3 separate regions of the Homo sapiens genome follow, and regions 1 and 3 are each linked to region 2. Evidence: promoter capture Hi-C in human tissues and cell types (Jung and others, 2019). All regions are on one chromosome and are shown on one strand. Each heading gives the region's core, a stretch centred on a gene start or on the middle of the fragment in contact. The rest is flanking DNA. Distances are from core to core; before and after follow the strand shown. Region 1 holds the start of SLC7A9 (solute carrier family 7 member 9). Region 2 overlaps TDRD12 (tudor domain containing 12). Region 3 holds the start of TDRD12 (tudor domain containing 12).

What was found. The method cuts DNA at HindIII sites, captures the fragments that hold promoters and counts their contacts. A contact is called where the count stands out against the background at its distance.
Region 1: the fragment with the promoter of SLC7A9 here is called in contact with a fragment that was not itself captured in region 2 in 3 of the 25 tissues and cell types used here (aorta, bladder and spleen).
Region 3: the fragment with the promoter of TDRD12 here is called in contact with a fragment that was not itself captured in region 2 in 4 of the 25 tissues and cell types used here (H1 embryonic stem cells, mesendoderm cells, pancreas and 1 more).

The regions. Positions count from the first base shown.
Region 1 is chr19:32,867,874-32,871,474 of GRCh38, forward strand. It overlaps SLC7A9 (solute carrier family 7 member 9), which reads right to left and starts at 1,894. Exons shown (of 13, transcript NM_014270.5): 1 at 1,813-1,894; 2 at 575-772. The coding sequence starts at 661. RefSeq lists enhancers at 182-757, 2,199-2,721, 2,722-3,244. The HindIII fragment of the contact is 18,950 bases long and covers 1-3,601 here.
Region 2 is chr19:32,787,612-32,791,028 of GRCh38, forward strand. It overlaps TDRD12 (tudor domain containing 12), which reads left to right. Exons shown (of 33, transcript NM_001366102.1): 12 at 2,920-2,980; 13 at 3,353-3,417. Among named protein-coding and RNA genes, the nearest start is that of TDRD12, 70 kb to the left of the region's middle. RefSeq lists an enhancer at 1-206. The HindIII fragment of the contact is 4,950 bases long and covers 1-3,417 here.
Region 3 is chr19:32,718,262-32,721,722 of GRCh38, forward strand. It overlaps TDRD12 (tudor domain containing 12), which reads left to right and starts at 1,506. Exons shown (of 33, transcript NM_001366102.1): 1 at 1,506-1,835. The coding sequence starts at 1,812. The HindIII fragment of the contact is 27,705 bases long and covers 1-3,461 here.

The sequences.
Region 1 (3,601 bases), core at 644-3,143, 81 kb after region 2:
GAGCTGAGATCATACCACTGCACTCCAGCCTGGGTGACAGAGCAAGACTCTGTCTCAAAAAAAAAAAAAAAAAAAAAAAAGAATATGCAGCCGAGTGCAGTGGCACACGCCTGTAATCCCAGCACTTTGGGAGGATCACCTGAGGCCAAGAGTCTGAGACCAGCCTGGCCAACATGGTGAAACCCTGTCTCTACTAAAAATACAAAAATTAGCCGGGTATGGTGGCGGGTGCTTGTAATCCCAGCTACTCGGGAGGCTGAGTCAGAAGAATCCCTTGAACCGGGGAGGTGAAGGTTGCATTGAGCCGAGATGGCAGCACTGCACTCTAGCCTGGGTGACAGAGCAACACTCCATCTCAAAAAAAAAAAAAAAAAAAAGAAGATGCAGAATTCCCTGGCGAGAGGGAAAGAGAAGTAAGTCCAGAGATTATCCCTTTAAAGATGTACTTCACAAATCAAAGAGTACATCTTCTGCCGTGTCACTAGGGATCGGCCCGGATTTCACTGCCTGCGCCCCTCGTTCAGACGCCCTTGCCTAACCTGCAAAGGGCCTGCCCCACCAGAGACCGCCTTACCTCCTTTTGGAGACTGGTGGTCTTAGGCTCTTGGCTCTGGATCGACTTCTCATCCTCTCTCCGCTTTCTCAGGCCAGTATCCCCCATGTTTCCTCCTGCTGGTTCCAGGAGACTGCAAGGAGGGCGCACAGCTAAATCTTGGTTCAGCAGCAGCAGACAAGACGCAAGTGCAAGCTCGGCCTGGACTAGGGGAGCTGGCTGCAAAAGCACAGTGTTGGTTATTGCTGCAGGTGGGGGCCGCTGCCAGTCCCTCAGGGCTCATGCGCTGGGCCCCAGAGTCAAAGTCAGTCATTAACATTGTCCAGGCAGGGGAACACAGCTCCCCGCTGCTCTCCAAAGCTCAGCTGCTTGCTTAGCTCTCTCCCAGACAGGCCCCGGGAGCCTCCTGGCCCACGTGCCTGTGCCTTGAAAGTCATTCTACCTCTATGGTCAACTTCATTTTTTTTCAAAAGTAAAAAGAAATATTTAACAACATCCCGGGCTGGGCACAGTGGCTCAGGTCTGTAATCCCAGCACTTTCGGAGGCCGAGGTGGGTGGATCACTTGAGCCCAGGAGTTTGAGACCAGCCTGGCTAACATGGCGAACCCCGTCTCTACTAAAAATGCAAAAAAAAAAAAAAAAAAATTAGCTGGGTGTGGTGGTGGGTGCCTGTTAATCCCAGCTACTCGGGAGGCTGAGGCAAGAGAAGCACTTGAACCCTGGAGGCAGAGGCTGCAGTGAGCCAAGATCATGCCACTGCACTCCAGCCTGGGCCACAGAGCGAGATTCTGTTTCAAAAAATATATATATAAAAAATTAAAAAATGAAAATATTGTGGAATGTATTTATCAGAATCAAGTCCAGGTAAGGAGTGTCTGTCTTATAATTCCTTCCCAAGATTAAAGGCACTCCCATACATCACAGATCCACAATACAGGTACTTTTTCTTTGTACTTTTTAAATTTTTACAATATTTTTTATAAAGACGGGAGTGTTGCTATTTGCCCCGGCTGGCCTCAAGCAGTCCTTCCACCTCGGCCTCCCAAAGGGCTGGGATTTCAGGGGTGAGCCACCACGCCTGGCCAGGTACTTTTTCATTGAGTGATGAAAGGAAAGAAAACATTGCCGAGGAAACCCAGTTCCAGACTGAACTAGGAGAAAACCATGCACTCCTGTACCCTCTCTCTAAATAAATTATCTGTCCAGGCCCCGGCCAGGAGAGCCATGAGCCTTTCTATCACCTACTGACCTTACTTACCTTCCTCCGTGACCCTGCAGAGCCGGAGGAGCTGCGGCCCAGCTGACCGCCCGTGCCTGCACGGTCCAACCCTAGAAATGGCCATGTCTTGTGCCCAGGAGCAAAGGAAGTCCAGAAGGTACAGAGGTCAATAAGGGTAATTATTAAACACCTTTTTTTTTTTTTTTGCAATGAAGCTTAGATACGCCACACAAAAAAGGGGAGGGTCAGGAACACCAATTTCTCTCCAAAACCGTTTTTGTTTTGTTCATTTGTGTCTAGGTCAGATTATTTTTTTAAAACCAGATGGTCCCAAATCGTCTACACTTTTTACCTAAAGATAAAATAAATTATGCCTTCTTTTATCTTTGGGAATCAGAGGAGATAAACTTTGGAACCAATTCGCTAATTGCCTTAATAGGCTATATTTAAAACCCAAGTCAGGCAGCTCAAACAGGAACCGCTGTGTGTGCGTAACTCAGCTGTTGGTCAGTTTCCTCCCCGCCCAGGAATTTCCCCCAAGCCAAGGGCCTGCCTCTGGCTGAGCAGGTGAGAGCGGCTGAGCCCGTCCCACTCCTCTTTACCAGTGATGGGGCTTCACCACTTGGAATCACAAGCAGGCCTGAGGCAATGCAGGGCCTCGTGTCCTCCCTGCAGCTGCGGCCAAATGCCCATCAGGTTTGGCTGTGGTGCTGTTCACGTAGCCATGTCCTGGCTCATCACAAGGGACACAAAACCTTCCCCTTCGGGGAAACGGAGGGGGACAGGCAACACAAGGCCAGGAAGCTCCGGTCCGCATCCAGGGCTGCCAGGGTCTGGATCTCTCTGGGAGGGAGCAGAGGTTCTCCCGCACTGCGATTGGACCTAGGCTCAGGCGGCAGCCTCAGGGGTCAGCACGAAGCCCTTTCAGATAGGGAAGGAAGCACCTTATGAGACCTTATGAGACAGCCTGGCACAGCATAAGCACTGCATCTGAAGCATCGTAGCTGTTACCTTCAGCCAAAACTCTGGTAGCTTTGCCTTGGGCCAAACTTAACTGCATCCCAGATATCAGATGGAAGCAAAGGTCAGGGATGGAAGGAGCTGGGCCAGTCTCTGGGGGTCAGTTTGGGAGCAGTTTGGGGCAAGCAGACCTGAGAGAGGCACAGGTTTCTCTGAAAGCCGTCTGCAGAGCACAGGGACCCTTGTTGTCCCAGAGGCACGGTCCTGATTTAGAAGTTCGTCACCTCCCATCTTGGGAGGGCCCACCTGTTTACCTGCCTGCCATGCCCAGAGCCCTGAGCAGAGAGGCTAGTGGCAGGTCCTGCCACCCTAGACAGAACCTGCCCACCGGCTTGCTGGGGTCACTCCTCCTAATGTTGCAGCACTCATCATAGTACCTGGCACATCCATGTTTGCAAAACACCACAGAATACCCCCTGGGTCAAAAGTGCTCCTGGCAGGCTGACAGGAGACCACGTGAGGACATCAGGGTGGGGCAGTGGTCCCCCGCTGGGGCCAGACAGCCCTGCAACCTCACCCACTACCCACATGGGCTCAGGCAGCACTGCCAGGATCAGGGTCTGAACCTGCGACGCAGGGCGAGCAACAGGCGCCTCCTCACGGAACACACTGAACTTGCATGTTCCATGAATGTCCGGGACCAGCCCTCTGGTCTTCCTGGGCCTCTTCCAAGTGCCGAGTCTGGAACATCGGGATGTGAGGGTCCTTTGTTAAGTCAGAAACCTCCACTTCAGTTCATTTTGGGTCCACGGTGAGCATTTCTTAAGCCTGTTTCTTAAAGTTGTGTTTTTCACCGCAGTCCCACCCT
Region 2 (3,417 bases), core at 73-2,572:
TGTGAGCATAGAACCGCCTACTCAACCTCAGCAATGGTGGACACCCCTCCCCACACCAAGCTCCCGCATCCCAGGTCGATCTCAGACTGCTGTGCTAGCATCGAGCAAGGATCTGTGGGCGTGGGACCCGCCGAGCCAGGCACAGGAGGGAATCTCCTGGTCTGCTGGTTGTGAAGACTGGGAAAAGCGCAGTATTTGGGCAGGAGTATACTGCTCCTCCAGGTACAGTCAGTCATGGCTTCCCTTGGCTAGGAAAGGGAAACCTTTCCCCTTGTGCTTCCCAGGTGGGGCGACACTCCACCCTGCTTCAGCTCACCCTCCACGGGCTGCACCCACTGTCCAACCAGTCCCAGTGAGATGAACCAGGTACCTCAGTTGGAAATGCAGAAATCACCCATCTTCTGCATTGATCTTGCTGAGAGCTATAGACTGGAGCTGTTCCTATTTGGCCATCTTGAAAGTGCCTGCTCTTTTTTTAATCTCTTTGTCTTTTTGCTTTACTTTTTTTTTTCTTTTTTTTTGTTTTTTTGAAATGGAGTCTCGCTCTTTTGCCCAGGCTGGAGTGCAGTGGTGCGATGTCGGCTCACTGCAGCTTCTGCCTCCTGGGTTCAAGTGATTCTCCTGCCTCAGTCTGGGATTACAGGTGCCTGCCACCACACCTGACTGATTTTTGTATTTTTAGTAGAGACAGGGTTTCACTATATTGGCCAGGCTGGTCTCAAACTCCTGACCTCAAGTGATCTGCCTGCCTCGGCCTCCCAAAAGGCTGGGATTATAGGTGTGAGCCACCACACCCAGCCTGCTTTACTTTTTGGAATGATTTTACAATTTTGTCCTCTACTCATTTTATTGTGTTTTTTATTTCTAATATCACGTTTTTAATTTGCAAGGGTTTTCCTTTTGTTCTCTTTTCTCTTTTCTTTTTCTGACAGTGTCCTGTCCTCGTTTCACATATATGGTAGTTTCTCTCATTTCTCTAAGGAGACTAATGATTTTTGTGGGGGAGTTTTCTTCTCCCTACACTGTTTCTTTTTTTGCAGGGTGCATTACTCGGTTTTTAAGGCTGGAGGCTTTCCTTAGATGTCATGCAGTCCTTGATTGTCTGCCTGTATTTCAACGTAGAGGCCCAGTGAGCCGGTGAGGGTCTCTGAGTGTGCCAAGCCTGTGGGCTGTGGGTCTCTCTGGGGAGCGAGCTGCTGTGAGTACAGGGACCTCTGAATTCCGTCCAGATGCCCAAGGGAAGGCTTCTCCTGTCTCTGGCCCCTGGGGCTAAAGACCTGCCTGTGTCCTGGGAGCTGAGTGGGAGGCACAGGCTGGGTCTCACTGTCCTGTGTGTGCTTAGCCTCCTTCTTTTCAGTTCAGCACCTCTGTTTGCAGCTAGGCCTACAGCCCCGAGTCCTGAGAGTTCTGCTTTATCCTCTCCAGAGAATCAGCCCCTGGCCTTCCTCGGGTTGGGGTGAGTGGCCGTCTGGTGTGGAGTAGTGTAAGGTGATGCAGAGGTTCCCCCCTCTGCCACATTGCTGCAGCCAGGGAGCCTGCCCCTAATTCCTAAGCTTTCTGAAGGTTGTTCTCTGCAGATAGGGTCAGGCCTCCCGCGGCTGGCTCAGGGTCAACTGTCTTGGGGCTGTTACCAGTTTGTCCATCTGTTTTTTAGCTTCCAACATTCTGTTCTGGAATATTGTCTCTAAAACATAGCTTTTTTGAAATATGATTCATGTACCCTTTTTTCAAGTGTACAATTCAGTGATTTTTAGTGTATTCACAGAGTTTGCAACCACACAAGTAAGTGCATACCCATTAGCGGTCACCCTCCATTTTCCTCCCTCCACATCCTTTGGTAGCCAGCTGTCTGCTTTCAGTCTCTATGGGTTTGCCTGTTCAGGACATTTCATATCGATGGGCTCATACGGTGGGTGGGCCTTGGTGACGCTGGTTTCACTGCACAGTGTTTCCAAGGCTCATCTCTGCCATATCATAAACTAGCACAGCATGCCTTTTCATGACTGACTTATATTCCATTGCGTGCATGGAGTGCATTTCATGTACCCATTCATCAGCTGATAACAGTTGGATCTTGTGGCTTTTGCATTTGAAAATCCATTTACAGGGCCGGGCGCAGTGGCTCACGCCTATAATCCCAGCAGTTTGGGAAGCCGAGGCAGGCGGTTCACCTGAGGTCAGGAGTTCGAGACCAGCCTGGACAACAATGGTGAAACCCTGTCTCTACTAAAAATACAGAAATTAGCTGGGTGTGGTGGTGGATGCCTGTAGTCCCAGCTACTCAGGAGGCTGAGGCAGGAGAATCTCTTGAACCTGGGAGGCGGATGTTGCAGTCAGCTGAGATCACACCACTGTACTCCAGCCTGAGTAACAAGAGCGAAACTCCATCTCAAAAAAAAAAGAAAAAAGAAAAAACGCGTTTACAGGAATGAGGCTTTAGGAAGGAGCGCAGTTTGCCATGTGTGTAACCCACCATCTTTATCCTGGAGTCCCCGCCATGTCTGTGCCTTGTGACTTCTCTGTGACTGCCACTGGCCTTACCCATGTTGGGGTTGGGCTGGATCTAGAGGAAAGCAGTTTCAAATTTCTTCTCCTCTCAGCAGAGGTGACTGTGGACAAGTCCTATCTGGTCTTGTTTTCTCATCCATAAAATAAAGATAGTAAAGTACACTAGTGATTCCTGAGCTTGGCTGGGGCCCCTCAGATACTCTCAGGGGGACCTGGGTGGCAGGGTTGTGGCAGCACAGGTACAGGCCCTCATGTCTCATAAACCAAGCAGAACAGAACAGGCAGCAGTTGTACAGCTGAGCCTTGGGCTGTGCAGCCCCTGCTATCTCTGTCAAGGAAGAACTAAAAGAATAGCTCAACTGAGGAAACAAACACCTTTTTCTTCACATTCTTCTTTTAACTATCTTACAGATTACTGCAGTTTTTAAATCCTGATCCTTTGAGAGCTGACGGAATCTCTGATCTCCAGCAGGTATTACAGGCCCTAAAAAAAGTAAAATAAAAAGAGAGAAAAAACTGTTTATTCTTTAAATCCTTCTCCTTCCTCCCTCCAGACTTGAGATTAGAAGAGAAACTCCTTAGATGGGGGACTTAACCTGAAGACATCCTTTTAGAAACGATCGAATGGATTGTTGCTTCTGAGAAATTGTTCCTTGTTTTTTGGATAATAAACGATCTTCCTTTTGGTAGTTTGGTGGTTTTTTTTTTCTTTTTTTTTAAGTAAGCATATATACCCAGGTGTTTACATTGAAATCTATATTTTCTTCATTTCTGTGAAGTTCTTGATCTCCTGTGCTGACGCCTCAGGGCAGACACTGGTTGTCTAATGCACACGTTCTCTCAGTTGCAGAAGCTGAAGGGCCTGCAGCCGCCCGTGGTAGTGCTCCGGAACAAGATCAAGCCCTGCTT
Region 3 (3,461 bases), core at 256-2,755, 69 kb before region 2:
GCAATGGAGAAAGAGTAATTCACGCAGAGCCGGCTGTGTGGGAGACTGGAGTTTTATTATTACTCAAATCAGTCTCTCCGAGCATTTGAGGAACAGAGTTTTTAAAGACAATTGGGCGGGTAGGAGCTTGGGAAGTGGGGAGTGCTGATTGGCCAGGTTGAAGATGGAATCAGAGGTTGTTGGAGTTTTTCTTGCTATTTACTCTTCCTGGTTGGTTTGGCAGAACTGGTTGAGGCAGATTATCGGTGTGGGTGGTGTCAGCTGATCCACTGAGCTGATTCAAGGATTGTTGTCTCATGCCTCCCTAAAATGTAAAAGACCAAGTGAGGCAGGAAAATAGGGTCTGGAGGTAGGGAACATAAGGCCGATTCACGCTTCAGCTATAAGGGGAAATACCCTCTCCATAGGGCATACACCGAGTAAATGACTTCGTAACTTTACTTCACCGTCTTCATTTACATCGGGCGTACCCCAAGCAGAAGGTATTTAAATTCACAGAAATTCTGCCGGGCCTTTGAGTCCCTGTGTTCAGGCCTGCTCCCACACTGTGGAGTGTACTTTTTCAATAAAACCCTTCATTCCTTCCTTGCTTTGTGTGTGCCTTTTGTCAAATTCTTTCTTCAAGACACCAAGAACCTGGACACCCTCCAACTTTAACACAAGCTGTGCCTCGACCACGTCTAGCAAATGTCGTTAGGACTTCCTGTGTCAGGGGCGCCTGTCCTCAACCTTGGCAAAATTTTTTGTTTTGTTTTGTTTTTTGAGACAGAGTCTCACTCTGTCGCCCAGGCTGGGGTGCAGTGGCCTGATCTCAGCTCACTGAAACCTCTGCCTCCCGGGTTCAAGCGATTCTCCTGTCTCAGCCTCCCAAGTAGCTGGGATTAGAGGCGCTCCCCACCATGCCAGGCTAATTTTTCTATTTTTAGTAGAGACGGGGTTTCACCATGTCGAGGATGCTAGTCTCCAACTCCTAACCTTATCAGGTGATCCGCACCCCTCGCCTCCCAAAGCGCTGGGATTACAGGCCTGAGCCACCTCGCTCTGCTGGCCAAATAAACTTTCTAAATGAACTGAGACCTATCTCACATTTTCAGGATTCACAGGCTCTTATCAATTTTGTTTCAGAGTCAAACCATGGACTGAATTCCTTCCCAAGGTTAGTTGGGCTTCCGCCCAGGAATAAACAAGGACAGCTTAAAGGTTAGAGGCAAGATGGAGTTGATTAGGTCTGATTTCTTTCACCATCACAATTTCCTCAGTTACAATTTTGCAAAGGTGGTTTCCAACGGACTCAGCCGCACGCGGCCCCTCTGTCCCTCCGGGGGACAGGCGAGTGTCCCTGGGGCCTGCAGGGCAGTCCTGCTGGCTGCAAAAGAGAGAATCACGCGACCCCTAGCCGGGCCTCCCAGGGCCTCCGCGCGTCAGTCCTCCTGGCCACCGCGTGGCGCTGTGCCTTACGTTGTTGGGCCGTTGGGTGGACCACGTGGTCTCCGACGCCTCAAGGCCTGCTCAGCGTGCGCGGGCATCCGGTGGGTGCGGGAGGCCCGAGGCCAGGCAGGCAGGGATCCCGCAGCGAGGGGCTGGTTACTGCCAGGACGGAGCGCATTGCCTCGAGCCGACCCCGGGGTCCGCGAGGGCTCCTGGGGACGAGGAGTGTGGGGCACCTGCCGCGGGGGGCCCAGGCGCTAAAGGTGGAGGGAAGGAACGCACTCGCGGCGGGGGCCTGGCCGGGGCGGACGCAGCCAGCCTCACCCGCGACGGTAGGGGACTTCCAGGGCGAGGGGGCCCATCTGCCCTCGGGCGCCAGGAGGATGCTCCAGCTCCTGGTGCTGAAGGTGAGCGCCGCCAAGCCAGACCCACGCCAGACCCACGCAGTCCCCCACCCCCACCCCAGCCGCGCACAGCCTCCCACCCCCACCCCAGCTCCGCACAGCTTCCTACACCCACCGCAGCCCCGCACAGCCTCCCACCCCCGACCCCAACCCTACACAGCCCCCACCCCTCCCCCCATCCCAGCCTCCACATCCCTCCACACCCACTCCTCCCAGCCCACGCATCCCCCCCATGTCCACTCCCTCTCAGCCCACACCTACTCCCCACGCCCACTCCTCCCCCAACCCACACATCCTCCCACACCCACTCCCACCCAGCTCCACCCCCACACTCACACATGCCCCCACCCCATCTCACTGCTGCACACTCCATCCCACTCCCACACATCCCAACCCCGTATATCCCATGCCGCCACACCACGCCCCCACTCCCACCCCACTCCCACCCCAACCCATCCCACTCCCAACCCCACACACCCCCAACTCCTACCCTAGCCCCAGCTCCCACCCGTTTCCTTATCGCTGCCCACCCCACAGTCACACCCTCGCCCCTGTCCCCACCCCATCCTTATTCCCACCGCCCCCACTCACACCTCCACCCCAACATTTCATCCCCCCACACTCAGCCCCACACACCCCACCACCACCCCATCTCCACTCCCACCTGCACCCCAGCCGCAGCCCACCCCACCTCCACTCCAACCCCACCCCGCCCTCCCCCACCTGAACCCTCCCTGCGCCCCCACCAGGGGGCACCCCGGGCTGGGAGCTGGGGTAGAACCCGGATGAGCCCGGGTTTCACGGGCCCTGGCGTGCTCCGGGATGCACCTGGAGGAGCGCGGAATTGGTTGCTCCTCCGAATGCTCGATCACCCGGGCCAAGCGACACTGGCGTCCCCAGGGCCCCGCTCTCCGTACTCCACGGGGCCCTTAGGCTCGGCGCCTGGACAGGGTCGGGTGGCCCGGGCAGCCCCAGCCCATGGGTCCGGGCTTCCCTCATGCCCCCAGTCTCTGTTGCCCTATCCGCTCACCGCGTGGGCTCTGCGTGGGCGTTGTTCTAGTCCTCGGGGAAGGGACGCCCGCCTGGACCCTTGCTTTTCCCCCTTGGAGTCCAGTGAGGGCTCATTGGTGAAGGGGAAAGCGTTGCTGGAGGAAGGAGTTGACAGGCCAGAGCAGAGGGGTGGGTATGGGTTATTGGAGAAAGGAAATCTAAATACTTTGAAAATCACACTTCAGTGGGCCCAGGAGCTGGACGTAGCAGATTGTGGGATTGTTTTATTTTATTTTATTATTTATTCATTTATTTTTTTGAGATGGAGTTTCGCTCTTGTTGTCTAGGCTGGAGTGCAGTGGTGTGACCTCAGCTCACTGCAACCTCCGCTTCCCGGGTTCAAGTGATTCTCCTGCCTCAGCCTCCCGAGTAGCTGGGATTACAGGTGCCTGCCACCACACCTGGCTAATTTTTGTATTTTTAGTAGAGACAGGGTTTCACCACGTGGCTGTTCTCGAACTCCTGACCTCAGGTGATCCACCTGCCTCCGCCTCCCAAAGTGCTGGGATTACAGGCGTGAGCCACCGTGCCTGGCCTATTTTATTTTATTTTATTTTATTTTATTTTATTTTATTTTAT